Linked DNA regions of Homo sapiens: all the other regions are linked to region 1. The links are contacts of gene promoters, found by promoter capture Hi-C in blood cells and fetal thymus (Javierre and others, 2016). All regions are on one chromosome and are shown on one strand. The core of a region is centred on a gene start or on the middle of the fragment in contact, and the rest is flanking DNA. Distances in the headings are between cores, read along the strand shown.

Region 1 (2,840 bases), core at 149-2,648:
CCCCTCTTCTCATGTCACAGTCTTTCAGGGGCTTCACTGGCCACCCAGATACTGACTCCCAATGGCTTTATCCAGTCCAAACTCTGGATTTCCCCATTACCATCAACCTTGACAACCCCAAAAGTGAACTATCTCCCCCCACCCCCGCTCCAAATCTGCTTCTCTTCCCTACTCCTCAATTTCAGTAGAAATGACACCCACTACCTATCTGGCTGCTCAAGCCAAAATTCAAGGAGTCATCCTCCATTCCTTCTTCCCACCCTCATACAAGTGCTGAGTTCTGTTCATTCCTCCTCCAAAACACCTCTCCAACCTGTCCACTTCTCTCAATCCCACTGCTGCTGCCTTGGTGCAGGCCACCATCAGCCCTCCCCTGGCCTATAGCCCTCCTGGTTTCCTGGTCTCCAGTCCTGACTACCTTTGACTAAATTCTCAATCCAGTGATGTTTACAAAATACGGATCTGAGCAACTCACTCCTCAACTCACATCCATGGCTCCCTACTATCCTCAAGACAATCTACAGTTCTTAACAGAGACTACAGTACAGGGTCCTTTGTGTTCACATCCCTGTCTATCTTACTCCCTCATTTCTCTACCATGCGCCCTACACGATTCGTCCAATACCAGGTTTTTCTTGCCTCTGTATATGCTGACACTACTTCATTCACTCATTCAACATATTTATTGAGAATCTGATTGTACCAGACAACTGAGGAAAACAGAAGCCCTCTGTCCTCAAGCAGCTGAGTGGAGAAAGTCAACCTCTAATCCTAAACAACCGTAGAAAGACTTTTTTCTTTTTGAGACAGAGTCTCGCTTTGTTGCCCAGGCTGGAGTACACTGGCGGGACCGCAGCTCACTGCAGCCTCTAACTCCTGGGCTCAAGGGATCCCGTAGAAAGACTATTTAATAGAGCTGGTAAACAGCTTGGGGGTTTCCTGGCCTGAAGAGCTTCGCTGACACTGCGCGCACACCCAGACCCACGCGTTCCGGGACCCCCGCCCGACCCGCCCCCTGCGCAGGCCCCGCCTCCTCACCGGCCTCGTAGCCGTCATCGCGCTTCTCCCGCTTCACGCGCCGCTCGGAGGGCTCTGCCTGGCTGCGCTCCCGCCCGTGCGTGCTGCTCCGGGCCTCAGCTTCGGCCCCGCGCCGCCCGCTCCCGCGCTCGCCCCCACGTTCCCGGCTCCGCTTCCGTCGTTCGCCACCGCTACCGCCACTGCCGCCACTCCGGTGCTTGTGTTTTTTGTGTTCCCGGTGCCGCGGCGGCTGCTCGGTGGCACCCCCGGTGCCGGCCGCCGCCGTCGTCCCGGCCGCCTCCTTCTCTCCGCGATGCTTCTTGGACGACCCCATAGTGGCACGTCCACTCCGAGCCCGGCTGCCGCCGAGCCCAGACAACGCAAAATGGGAATACTTCCGGGTCGCTCGGCAGCCGCTGTCGTGTTGCCGGAAACTAAGAGCGGCTGCTTCCGTCGCTCGCCTTGGAGCCTGCCCCAGAGGCTCATGGGAAGGCCGGGATCAGCGCTCGACTGCACATTCGCGCCGTCTCGGGTCGGGTGGGTTCTTTGAGCGAGTGGTCCCATTGCGCATGCGCTCCTCAAGGGAAGCGGAATTAACCCGGAGGTGGGATCCCAGAACTGGAAGGACTTAGAGCCCATTAAGTCAGTGTCTTCGTGGCTTTAAGTTCCTCCCCGGCCTCCCTGCGCTTGCACTTCACCGGCAACGGGGTGTTCACTACCTCACGGTCTTTCCGTAGACACCTCCCTCCTACAATGGGCGCTCGCTTAGTGGACTCCTAGGGTCGTGGCTCCAACGGGTGTTGTTTTCCCGAGATCTCCAATTCCACAGCCCAGCTTCAGACCCGCTATAACCAGTATCGTCAGGGAACGCTTCCTTCCCACGTTCCCTGTTTTGTTTTGTTTTGTTTTTTCCCTTGAGATAGGATCTCACTCTGTTGCTCAGGCTGGAGTGCAGTGGCGTGATCACAGCGCACTGCAGCCTCGACCTCCTGGGCTCAAGTGATCCTCCCACCTCAGCCTTCCCAGTAGCTGGGACTACGAGAGTACGCTACCACGCCCCTTTAATTTTTGTATTTTTTTGTAGATGGTTGGTGGGGAGCGGGGGTAGGGGGTGGGGTCACTATGTTGGCCAGGCTGGTCTCGAACTCCTGAGCTCAGGCTATACACCCGCCTTGGCCTCCCAAAGTGCTGAGATTACAGGCATGCGCCACTGCGCCTGGCCCTGGATTGGATTTTTAAAACCTGGCCCCGTGAACTGTTAAGATTGTTTAGGAGCTCCACATGGGCGTCAGTGTATCCCTGGAACCCCTGAAATTGAATGCAAAATGTGGCACATCTGTGTGTATGAGTTTTTTTCTTGAGGAGACCAGCCCTAACTTAAAACTATTGGGACTTAAAACCCCAGTGCAGGCCGGGCGCGGTGGCTCACGCCTGTAATCCCAGCACTTTGGGAGGCCAAGGCAGGCGAATCACGAGGTCAAGAGATCGAGACCATCCTGGCCTACATGGTAAAACCCCGTCTCTACTAAAAATACAAAAATTAGCTGGGTGTGGTGGCGCACACCTGTAGTCCCAGCTACTCAGGAGGCTGAGGCAGGAGAATCGCTTGAACCTGGGAGGCAGAGGTTGCAGTGAGTTGAGATCACACCATTGCACTCCGGCCTGGTGACAGAGCGAGACTCTGTCTTAAAAAAAAAAAAAAAAAGCGCAGTGCACACAATCCCAATCTCTCCTGAAACCCCTCCCCTCACCCAGTGGTTGCTCAGTCTGTGGCTCCCTGTGTGGCACAACTCAGCATGTGTTAGGCTATGTTGTATGCGCCC
Region 2 (2,840 bases), core at 246-2,745, 250 kb after region 1:
TGGCTGTGAAATGAGCCTGAAAAAAGCCACCAGAGAGTAGAAGAGAGGAAGAGAACAAGAGATGGTTTGGGGAACTCACCTGGGGAAAAACCGAGGCCGGGGCTGTCTCGCTGGGCACTGGAGTTGCTGGTGAAACCACCTCCACCTTCCGTTTCTGCAGAGAGAAACCAACAAAGGTGGGTCAGAAGGTAGAGAAGGTGGGACCTGAGAAGAAAGCAAGGTCCCTGGAATTGCTGAGGGTACCGTTGAGCGGTGGTTGGGCTGCAGGCAGGAGCTGGAGGAGAGCGGCTGGTCAGGCTCGCCACCGGGAATGGCCTCCCGCTCCTTGGGCAGGTTGAAGCGGAGTGTGATCTGGACCGGGATTGGCAAGGTCTTCCCGCTGGCCTGCGCCGAGGCCGGCTGTAGAGATAGGTCCAGGGTCTTCCTTTGGGGCGGGGATGGCAGTGGGATGGGGAAGGGGAAGAGGGGTCCCTCACCTCAAAATTATCAAACCCCACCCTCGCCTTCTGAAGGACACAGGACTAGCTACTGGACTCTGGGAGCTACATGTGCAATTTGGCCCCCATCCTTTGCAAGATGAAGTCAGGGTGAGAGGGAGCCGCCTCCTGCCCATCCAGGAGCTCCTAATGCCAACAGACAAGAGAAATAGGAGGCAGGAGAGAAAAGGTGAAGTGGGGGACCTACTCACCACCTCTCTCTCTGGAGAGCCAGGACGGGACCCAGGAAGTCCGTTCTTAGTGGGGGTCTTGGCCTCTTTCTTGGGGAACTGGATCTTCTTTAGGTCCAGCCGCTCATGCGTCACCCATTCATCCAGACGTTTGTTGACTGTAGCAGTGGGGATGGCTCAGGACAGAATGCCAAAGACTGTCCCCCAACCCTACCCTGATGCCCCACCTCAGGCCCAGAACTCACAGTCAATGTAATGGACGTAGAAAAGCTTCCGGCCACTGATGTCCTTCACGCTCAGGATCTCGGCCAGGGCTATGAGAATAGCATAGACAGGGGCCTTAGACAGGCCAGGCTATGAGACTCCACCCTTCCACGACCTGAACTCCACCCCCAGGCCGGATCCCTAAGCTCCAGCACTTAGGTCTCTCCTAAGCCTCCTTCAGTCACAAGTGCCACCCCTTTCCAGGCCCCGCCCTGTACCTCTCGGAGCAGCTAAGAGCCACGCCCCTTCATCAAAGTATCTGCGCCTCGCCCGCCCCATAATTCCAGACGCCCCTCCCCATCCCGGGATTTCAGTTGACTCCCGCCCCTCGCCCTCAGGTTCCTTAGTCCCGCCCCCCAACGTCACTCACGCCACTCATCTTCGTTGTCCTGGTTCCGCCGCAGCACGGGTAGGCGGCAGCCCTCGATTATCTCCCCCTGGGGAGACAGCGCGACGCCAGGGTCGGCTACTGGGGGGCCTCGGGCTCTACCCACCTCCCCTGGCTCCCTCCGCCCCGCCCCGGGCACCGGACTCACCACCTCCGCCATCTTCCCTCCCTCCACTGCCACTTCCGGCCCCTCTGGGAGACGTCACTTCCGGGACCGAGCGCCCTGTGGGCCCGGGCCTCACGAAGCCCCTGTAGAGGGGGACCTTTGAGAGACACCGCGACCCAGCTGCGAGGGGCAAGACTGCCCCTGTGACTCGGGGGAAAACGGAGTGTTACAAGCCTCAGGCCGAGCCCTAGGTGGAAACCCCATAACGTGCACAGCCAGTGGCGGTCTACTGAGTCCGTCACGTGACGCCCACCGGGTGCGAAGCTGGTCACGTGTATGCGGAGCGGGTCACGTGGCAATACCGTTTTTGGCTTTGTCGGAGGGAAGTCCTCGGGCGTCTCCTTGTGGCGGCGGGAGGTGTTGCCGGGAGTCAACTGGGCGCGAGAGGCTGGAGAAAGGAAGTGGCCTTAGAAGGGTTCGAACGCTCCCCCAAGTCTGTGGACTTCATTCCGTAGGCAAGAGGACTCAGGGAAGATTCCTAGCTTTATTTTGTATATTAGGCTTTTTTAATTTGTATATATTTATTTTTGAGACGGAGTCTCGCTCTGTCGCCAGGCTGGAGTGCAGTGGCGCGATCTCAGCTCCCTGTAACCCCCGCCTCCCGGGTTCAAGCGATTCTCCTGCCTCAGCCTCCCGAGTACCCAACTAATTTTTGTATTTTTAGTACGGGCGGGGTTTCACCATGTTGGCCAGGATGGTCTAGAGCTCTTGACCTCGTGATCCGCCCGCCTCGGCCTCACAAAGTACTGGGATTACAGGCGTGAGCCACCGCCCTCAGCCATATTAGGCTTTTTTTTTTTTTTTTTTTTTTTTTGAGACAAGGTCTGGCTCTCTCGCCCGGGCTGGAGTGCAGCCAGCGAGGCACAATCTCCGCTCACTGCAGCCTCCCCCTCCCGGGATCAAGTGATCCACCTCAGGCTCTCTAGTAGCTGGGACTACAGGCGCGCACCACCAAGCCTGGCTAGTTTTTTAAAATTTTTGTGTAAACAGGGTTTGGAGACTGGGCATGGTGGCTCACACCTGTAATCCCAGCTGCCTCCAGTCTAATCATGAGAAAAACATCAGACAAATCCCAATTGAGAAACATTTTACAAAATACCCCATGAATACTCCTCAAAACTGTGAAGGTGTCACCGGTGGAGGGTGTACAGGTTCTTGGCATCTAAAATAATGGGACAAAACGGCTGGGCGCGGTGGCTCACGCCTATAATCCCAGCACTTTGGGAGGCCGAGGCGGGCGGATCACGAGGTCAGGAGATTGAGACCATCCTGGCCAACACGGTGAAACCCTGTCTCTACTAAAAATAAATACAAAAAATTAGCTGGGCGTGGTGGCAGGCGCCTGTAGTCCCAGC
Region 3 (2,840 bases), core at 1-2,500, 200 kb after region 1:
TTAGCCATTCCCCCTTCCAATTATCCATCCAATTTATTTTTTATTTATTTATTTTTTGAGATGGATGGAGTCTCACTCTGTCACCCAGGCTGGAGTGCGGTGGCACAATCTCGGCTCACGGCAACCTCTGCCTCCCAGGTTTAAGTGATTCTCCTGCCTCAGCCTCCGAGTAGCTGGGATTATAGGCGCCCACCACTACGCCTGGCTAATTTTTGTATTTTTAGTAGAGACAGGGTTTCACCATGTTGGCCAGGATGGTCTTGAACTCCTGACCTCAAGTGATCCATCCACCTCAGCCTCCCAAAGTGCTGGGATTGCAGGTGTGAGCCACTGCGCCCAGCCCAATCATTGAATTTCATAAAATGTTATATCTGTTGATCACTGAGAGATGAGGAGGCAACCCACCTATACACTTGTCTGACGTCTGCATGAGCTGAATAACACACCGGCACTGACCAGCCAATCACCACTAGTCTTCGAAAGCAGTGATGTCCTAATCATGATGCCCATCTGTTATTTATGTCATTTTTTTGGACTAAAGAGCCAGCAGCAAGGTTTGCACCTTATACAATTCGTTAAAATTCCATGGCAAATGAAGTTTGAACCATGCTGGTGGGGAGGACTGGAGTTATTAAACTAAAATGTGGTAAGCCAAATATGTCCATATGGGGACTGGGCAAAGCAAAGACTGCCCACATACAGCACCTTAGCCTTTGTATGAGTTAGGAAACAATGGACTGTTTTTCCTTCTACATTCACACTCAACATAGAATGCTTCTGATCACCAAAATGTGTGGGTGATCAAACCCACACACCAAACAATTCTCTAGTGGACACTAACAGGGTGTCTTATAATTTAATTCAATTCTGACACCATCTACCTGGAGTTACAGTCAGAACCCACAGGTTAAGGGCTCAGTCCTGCAAGACTGTGCACACCTCAGAAGCCAGTCGCAAGCCGCAGGCTGTGACCTGTGCCTCTGTCCAATGAGCTATAAATAGGGGTTCCCACAACCCCATCCTGGAGTTTGATAATTTCTAGGCCAGCTCACAGAACTCAGGGAAACTTTACTTACGTTTACCCATTTATTCTAAAGACTATTAAACAGAATACAGATGCACAGGGCAAAGCATGTCAGAAGACCCGCTAAGCTTCCCTGCCCTCTCTGGGATGTGCCACCATCTAGGCACCTTCACGTGTTCAGCAGCCCAATAGCTCTCCAGATTCTGTAGTTCCAGGATTTTTATGGAGGCTTCATCACCCAGGCATGGTTGATTATTAACTCAGTCTCCAGCCTCTCTCCCCTTCCTGAAGAATGGGGGGTGGGACTGAAAGGTTCAAGCTTCTCATTATGGCTTGATCTTTCTGGCGACCAGGCCTCATCCAGGAGCCAGCAAGAGTCGGTCCTCTTGTTAGGACAGAAGATGCTTCTACCCCCACAATAATATTGCCATCTGGGGGAAAAAGGACTTGTTAGCAGTTCATGTTTGTACTCCTAGAAGTACTTTCAAGAAGTATAAAAATGAATACACAGATATTTAAATGTTAAAACATTTGTGTTTGTGGTCAGTCAAGTTTCTACATAAGAGTGAGGTGCAGAGTGATAAACCAACTTCAAATAACATGACGATTCTCCTCTGATGTAATGTTGCCCATTCTAACAAAGTGTTTGCGAAACCTTAATTACTTGCCCTATTTGGTGAGAATCAGGCAACGAACAGAGAATCACATTTAATATGGATATAGAAAATATTTCGACCGGGCCCAGTGGCTCACACCTGTAATTCCAGCACTTTGGGAGGCTGAGGCCGGGGATTACAAGGTCAGGAGTTCGAGACCAGCCTGGCCAATATGGTGAAACCCCATCTCTACTAAAAATACAAGAAGTAGCCAGGTGTGGTGGCATGCACCTGTAATCCCAGCTATTCGGGAGGCTGAGGCGGGAGAATTGCTTGAAACCGGAAGGCAGAGGTTGCAGTGAGCCAAGATCACACCACTGCATTCCAACCTGGAGGATCCGTCTAAAAAAAAAAAAGGTAAAATTTTCTGTAGCCACTATATAACTATTCACTTTCAGATTAGTTTTGCATAATAGAGATTCCTTTATGCCACTAAGTGGAGAATAAAAGGTTTAAAAGTCAGAAAATCGCTCTCCCTCTCCCCTTTCCACGGTCTCCCTCTCCCTCTCTTTCCACGGTCTCCCTCTCCCTCTCTTTCCACGGTCTCCCTCTCCCTCTCTTTCCACGGTCTTCCTCTGATGCCGAGCTGAAGCTGGACTGTACTGCTGCCATCTCGGCTCACTGCAACCTCCCTGCCTGATTCTCCTGCCTCAGCCTGCCGAGTGCCTGCGATTGCAGGCGCGCACTGCCACGCCTGACTGGTTTTCGTATTTTTTTGGTGGAGACAGGGTTTTGCTGTGTTGGCCGGGCTGGTCTCCAGCTCCTAACCGCGAGTGATCCGCCAGCCTCGGCCTCCCGAAGTGCTGGGATTGCAGACAGAGTCTCGTTCACTCAGTGCTCAATGGTGCCCAGGCTGGAGTGCAGTGGCCTGATCTCGGCTCGCTACAACCTCCACCTCCCAGCCGCCTGCCTTGGCCTCCCAAAGTGCCGAGATTGCAGCCTCTGCCCGGCTGCCACGCCATCTGGGAAGTGAGGAGCGTCTCTGCCTGGCCGCCCATCGTCTGGGATGTGAGGAGCCCCTCTGCCTGGCTGCCCAGTCTGGGAAGTGAGGAGCGCCTCTTCCCAGCCGCCATCCCATCTAGGAAGTGAGGAGCGTCTCTGCCCGGCTGCCCATCGTCTGAGATGTGGGGAGCGCCGCCGCCCTGTCTGGGACTTGAGGA
Region 4 (2,840 bases), core at 206-2,705, 150 kb after region 1:
CCGACTAAGTTTTCGTATTTTTAGCAGAGACGGGATTTCATCATATTGGTCAGGCTGGTGTCGAACTCCTGACGTCAGCTGATCCACCTGCCTTGGCCTCCCAAAGTGCTGGGATCGCAGGTGTGAGCCACCGCACCCAGCCCCCATTCACTTTTGTTTTAGGAAATGAGAAAGCTTCTGCCTTTTTTCTTTCCTTCCTTCCTTGGATGTTAGTTAAGATCAGTGAGGTAATGGTGATAAAGTACTTTGAATTACCTCAAGGAGAGTGCAGCCCAACTTGTTATTATTTACCTAGGTCAGTTCACAAACCCCCACGATCTAGGGTTCCTGTCTCCTGCCCTGGGGATGGTGCCTGGGAGAAAGGAGATGTCACAGACCCAGTCCCACAGGGCGCTGTTGGCTGGAGTTGGTCATTCCTTACTTTGACATCAACAGGCTTATCTCTAGAAATAGGCTAAATGGTAGCTCAGGCGCCGGTGTTGCCTCATCCCGCAAACTCCCAGGGAGGCTGCCTACTTCCAGCCCCTGTTCTGGGAACTAATGATAGGTGGGATGAAAAGACTGTTTCCTCTGATGCGCTTTTATGAGTTGTTTTCGAAGATGAGGTGGCAAGGACATGGTTAACCCGCTCCCTTGTGCAGGGAGACATCAGAATGACAGGGCACGGGGAATCTCCCCAACCCGTTCCCAGGAGAGCTCTTGCCGAGGACGGCCCAGCTGTTAGCCAGAAATCAAGGCAGCCTCAAGCCCTGTAACCCAGATATCAGTGGGCTTTTTCGGCTGACGGTGCTGTGGCCTGCGGCAGGCGGCAGTGTGGGTAGAGGACAGCTGTGGCTGAGGCCGGCAGCTCTTTCCACACGACTTCTTGGGTAATGGCTCTTCTTAAGCCTGTGATATTTAGGGATTGTCAAACTTCCCTTTCATCCTGAGCCACCTTCCCTCATGGGTAGCAGAGGAGTTGGATTTCTTTCTTTTCTTTTCTTTTTTCTTTTTCTTTTTCGACAGAGTCTTGCTCTGTCGCCCAGGCTGGAGGGCAGTGGTATGATCTCTGCTCACTGCAACCTCCACCTCCCGGGTTCAAGTGATTCTTCTGCCTCAGCCGCCCGAGTAGCTGGGATTACAGGCACGCACCACCACGCCCAGCTAATTTTTGTATTTTTAGTAGAGATGGGGTTTCACCATGTTGGTCAGGCTGGTCTCGAACTCTTGACCTCAGGTGATCCACCTGCCTTGGCCTCCCAAAGTGCTGGGATTACAGGCGTGAGCCACCAAGCCCGGTCAAGGAGTTGGATTTCTTATGACAAGAGTATTATGGCTGTGTGTCCCAGAGGAGGCACTGTGTCCTCATGAGGGTCCTTCACTGAAAGGAGAGCCTCGAGGACAAAGGAATCTTCTAGAGACGACGTTGGGAGGGAGGAGTGGAGTTTGCAGGTGACTCTAGAGGACCCCAAAGTCCAGTGGGAGCTCATTACCTCCTCGATAGGAGGAGCCTGTTGTTGTATGAGTGAGGAAAGGTGGCAGAACCGAGGCTGAGAGAGGCTGCGAAGATGCAGCAGCAGTGCTGAGGCCTGAGAGGAGGACACGTTCTATTACGCCAATTAATTCTACCCACCGAAAGGGCACATCACATTTTTGGGGTTGCCAAAAGCCGTTCTTAGCAGTAAAAAGTCTGTGAACTGCTGCACTGGGGATTGGCAAAGGCTTGGTAGCCAGCGCATTGAAGAGGGAGGGACAGCAAGCCTCACACCGGGAGTGGATCCTTCCTGTGTTTCTGCCACCACAGTTTGCCAGTTTGATGCCAAGGGACTCTTACTGTTTATGTGTGCATGTTTGTGCTGTTAGATTATCTTCTGAGCAATTTCAAGTTTTAAGAATATGTTGGTGAAGTCAACAATGAACAATTCCAGGAGACTTGGTTCCACCCGGGCCCTGCTCAGGAAAGATGAGGAGCCCCTCCCAACCCCACCCCTGCCTGTCCACATGGCCCTTCCTCCCCATCATCCACCATGGGGCCCTCCTGTGCCACAACATGGCTCTCATCCTTCTGTCTGGACACTTGCCCTGCCTCCTGGAGAGCCAGGCTCCTGCCCTGGCGGGCATGTGAGTGTGCATGTGTGTGAGTGTGCATGTGTGAGTGTGCGTGTTTGCGAGTGTGCACGTGAGTGCACGTCTGAACGTGTGTGGGAGTGTATACGTGAGTGCACGTCTCAACGTGTGTGCGAGTGTGCATGTGTGTGCGAGTGTGTACGCGTGAGTGCACGTGTGCATGTGTGTGCAATTGTGCGTGTGTCTACGTGTGTGCATGTGAGTGCATGTGTGTGTGATTGCGTGTGTGTATAATTGTGCACGTATGTGAGTGTGCATGTGTGTACAATTGTGTGCGTGTGTGTGAGTGTGCATGTGTGTGCATGTGGCACGGAGGGGGAAGAAGAGAGTTCTCCTCTGTGGTGATCGCCACCATTCAGTTGAAGGGTTTAAGCTGAGCCAAGATGAAGCAAGAGTGACACCAAGTGCCAAGAACAAGTGCTTGCTGTGGTATCAGGTGTGCTCTCTCCTCAAATCAGAGGAGCAGAGAGAAGCTCAGTTCCAGTCTGCAGTGTTCACCCCTGTGAGAGGGTGCCGACCCATCCAGAGGTGGCCAGCCCCCTCCAGAGGTGGCTCAGTGCTGGCATGCCACTCTGCCCATTTGGACAAGGGGATGGCCTCTCTGGGAATTGGATGCGGAACCGAAGCTTTGAATAGATTTAAAAAATAAAATCCAAGGTGGGATGTTTTGTTGGCTAGAACATGATGCACAGACCCAGATTGCCGTTCTGGCCCTATTGCTGTCCTTCAGCCCC

Evidence for each region. Contacts are between HindIII fragments. The CHiCAGO score rates a contact against its expected background, and 5 or more counts as called.
Region 2: the fragment with the promoter of KAT5 here is called in contact with the fragment with the promoter of SART1 in region 1 in 13 of 17 cell types (M2 macrophages, M0 macrophages, M1 macrophages and 10 more); the score reaches 10.9 in M2 macrophages.
Region 3: a contact is called between a fragment that was not itself captured here and the fragment with the promoter of SART1 in region 1, in 5 of 17 cell types (total CD8 T cells, megakaryocytes, naive B cells and 2 more). The highest score is 6.3, in total CD8 T cells.
Region 4: a contact is called between a fragment that was not itself captured here and the fragment with the promoter of SART1 in region 1, in 1 of 17 cell types (endothelial precursors). The highest score is 5.2, in endothelial precursors.

Annotation. Positions count from the first base shown.
Region 1 is chr11:65,960,292-65,963,131 of GRCh38, reverse strand. It overlaps SART1 (spliceosome associated factor 1, recruiter of U4/U6.U5 tri-snRNP), which reads right to left and starts at 1,398. Exons shown (of 20, transcript NM_005146.5): 1 at 1,039-1,398. The coding sequence starts at 1,351. RefSeq lists an enhancer at 753-1,540. The HindIII fragment of the contact is 10,638 bases long and covers 1-2,840 here.
Region 2 is chr11:65,710,907-65,713,746 of GRCh38, reverse strand. It overlaps KAT5 (lysine acetyltransferase 5), which reads right to left and starts at 1,495. Exons shown (of 13, transcript NM_182710.3): 1 at 1,302-1,495; 2 at 913-981; 3 at 689-825; 4 at 244-399; 5 at 80-154. The coding sequence starts at 1,479. RefSeq lists silencers at 1,170-1,249, 1,260-1,449 and enhancers at 1,480-1,789, 1,820-1,939. The HindIII fragment of the contact is 6,423 bases long and covers 940-2,840 here.
Region 3 is chr11:65,763,062-65,765,901 of GRCh38, reverse strand. No RefSeq gene overlaps it. Among named protein-coding and RNA genes, the nearest start is that of AP5B1, 16 kb to the left of the region's middle. The HindIII fragment of the contact is 191 bases long and covers 1,155-1,345 here.
Region 4 is chr11:65,809,927-65,812,766 of GRCh38, reverse strand. All of the region lies in intron 3 of LOC124902693, which reads left to right. Among named protein-coding and RNA genes, the nearest start is that of OVOL1-AS1, 20 kb to the right of the region's middle. The HindIII fragment of the contact is 2,558 bases long and covers 177-2,734 here.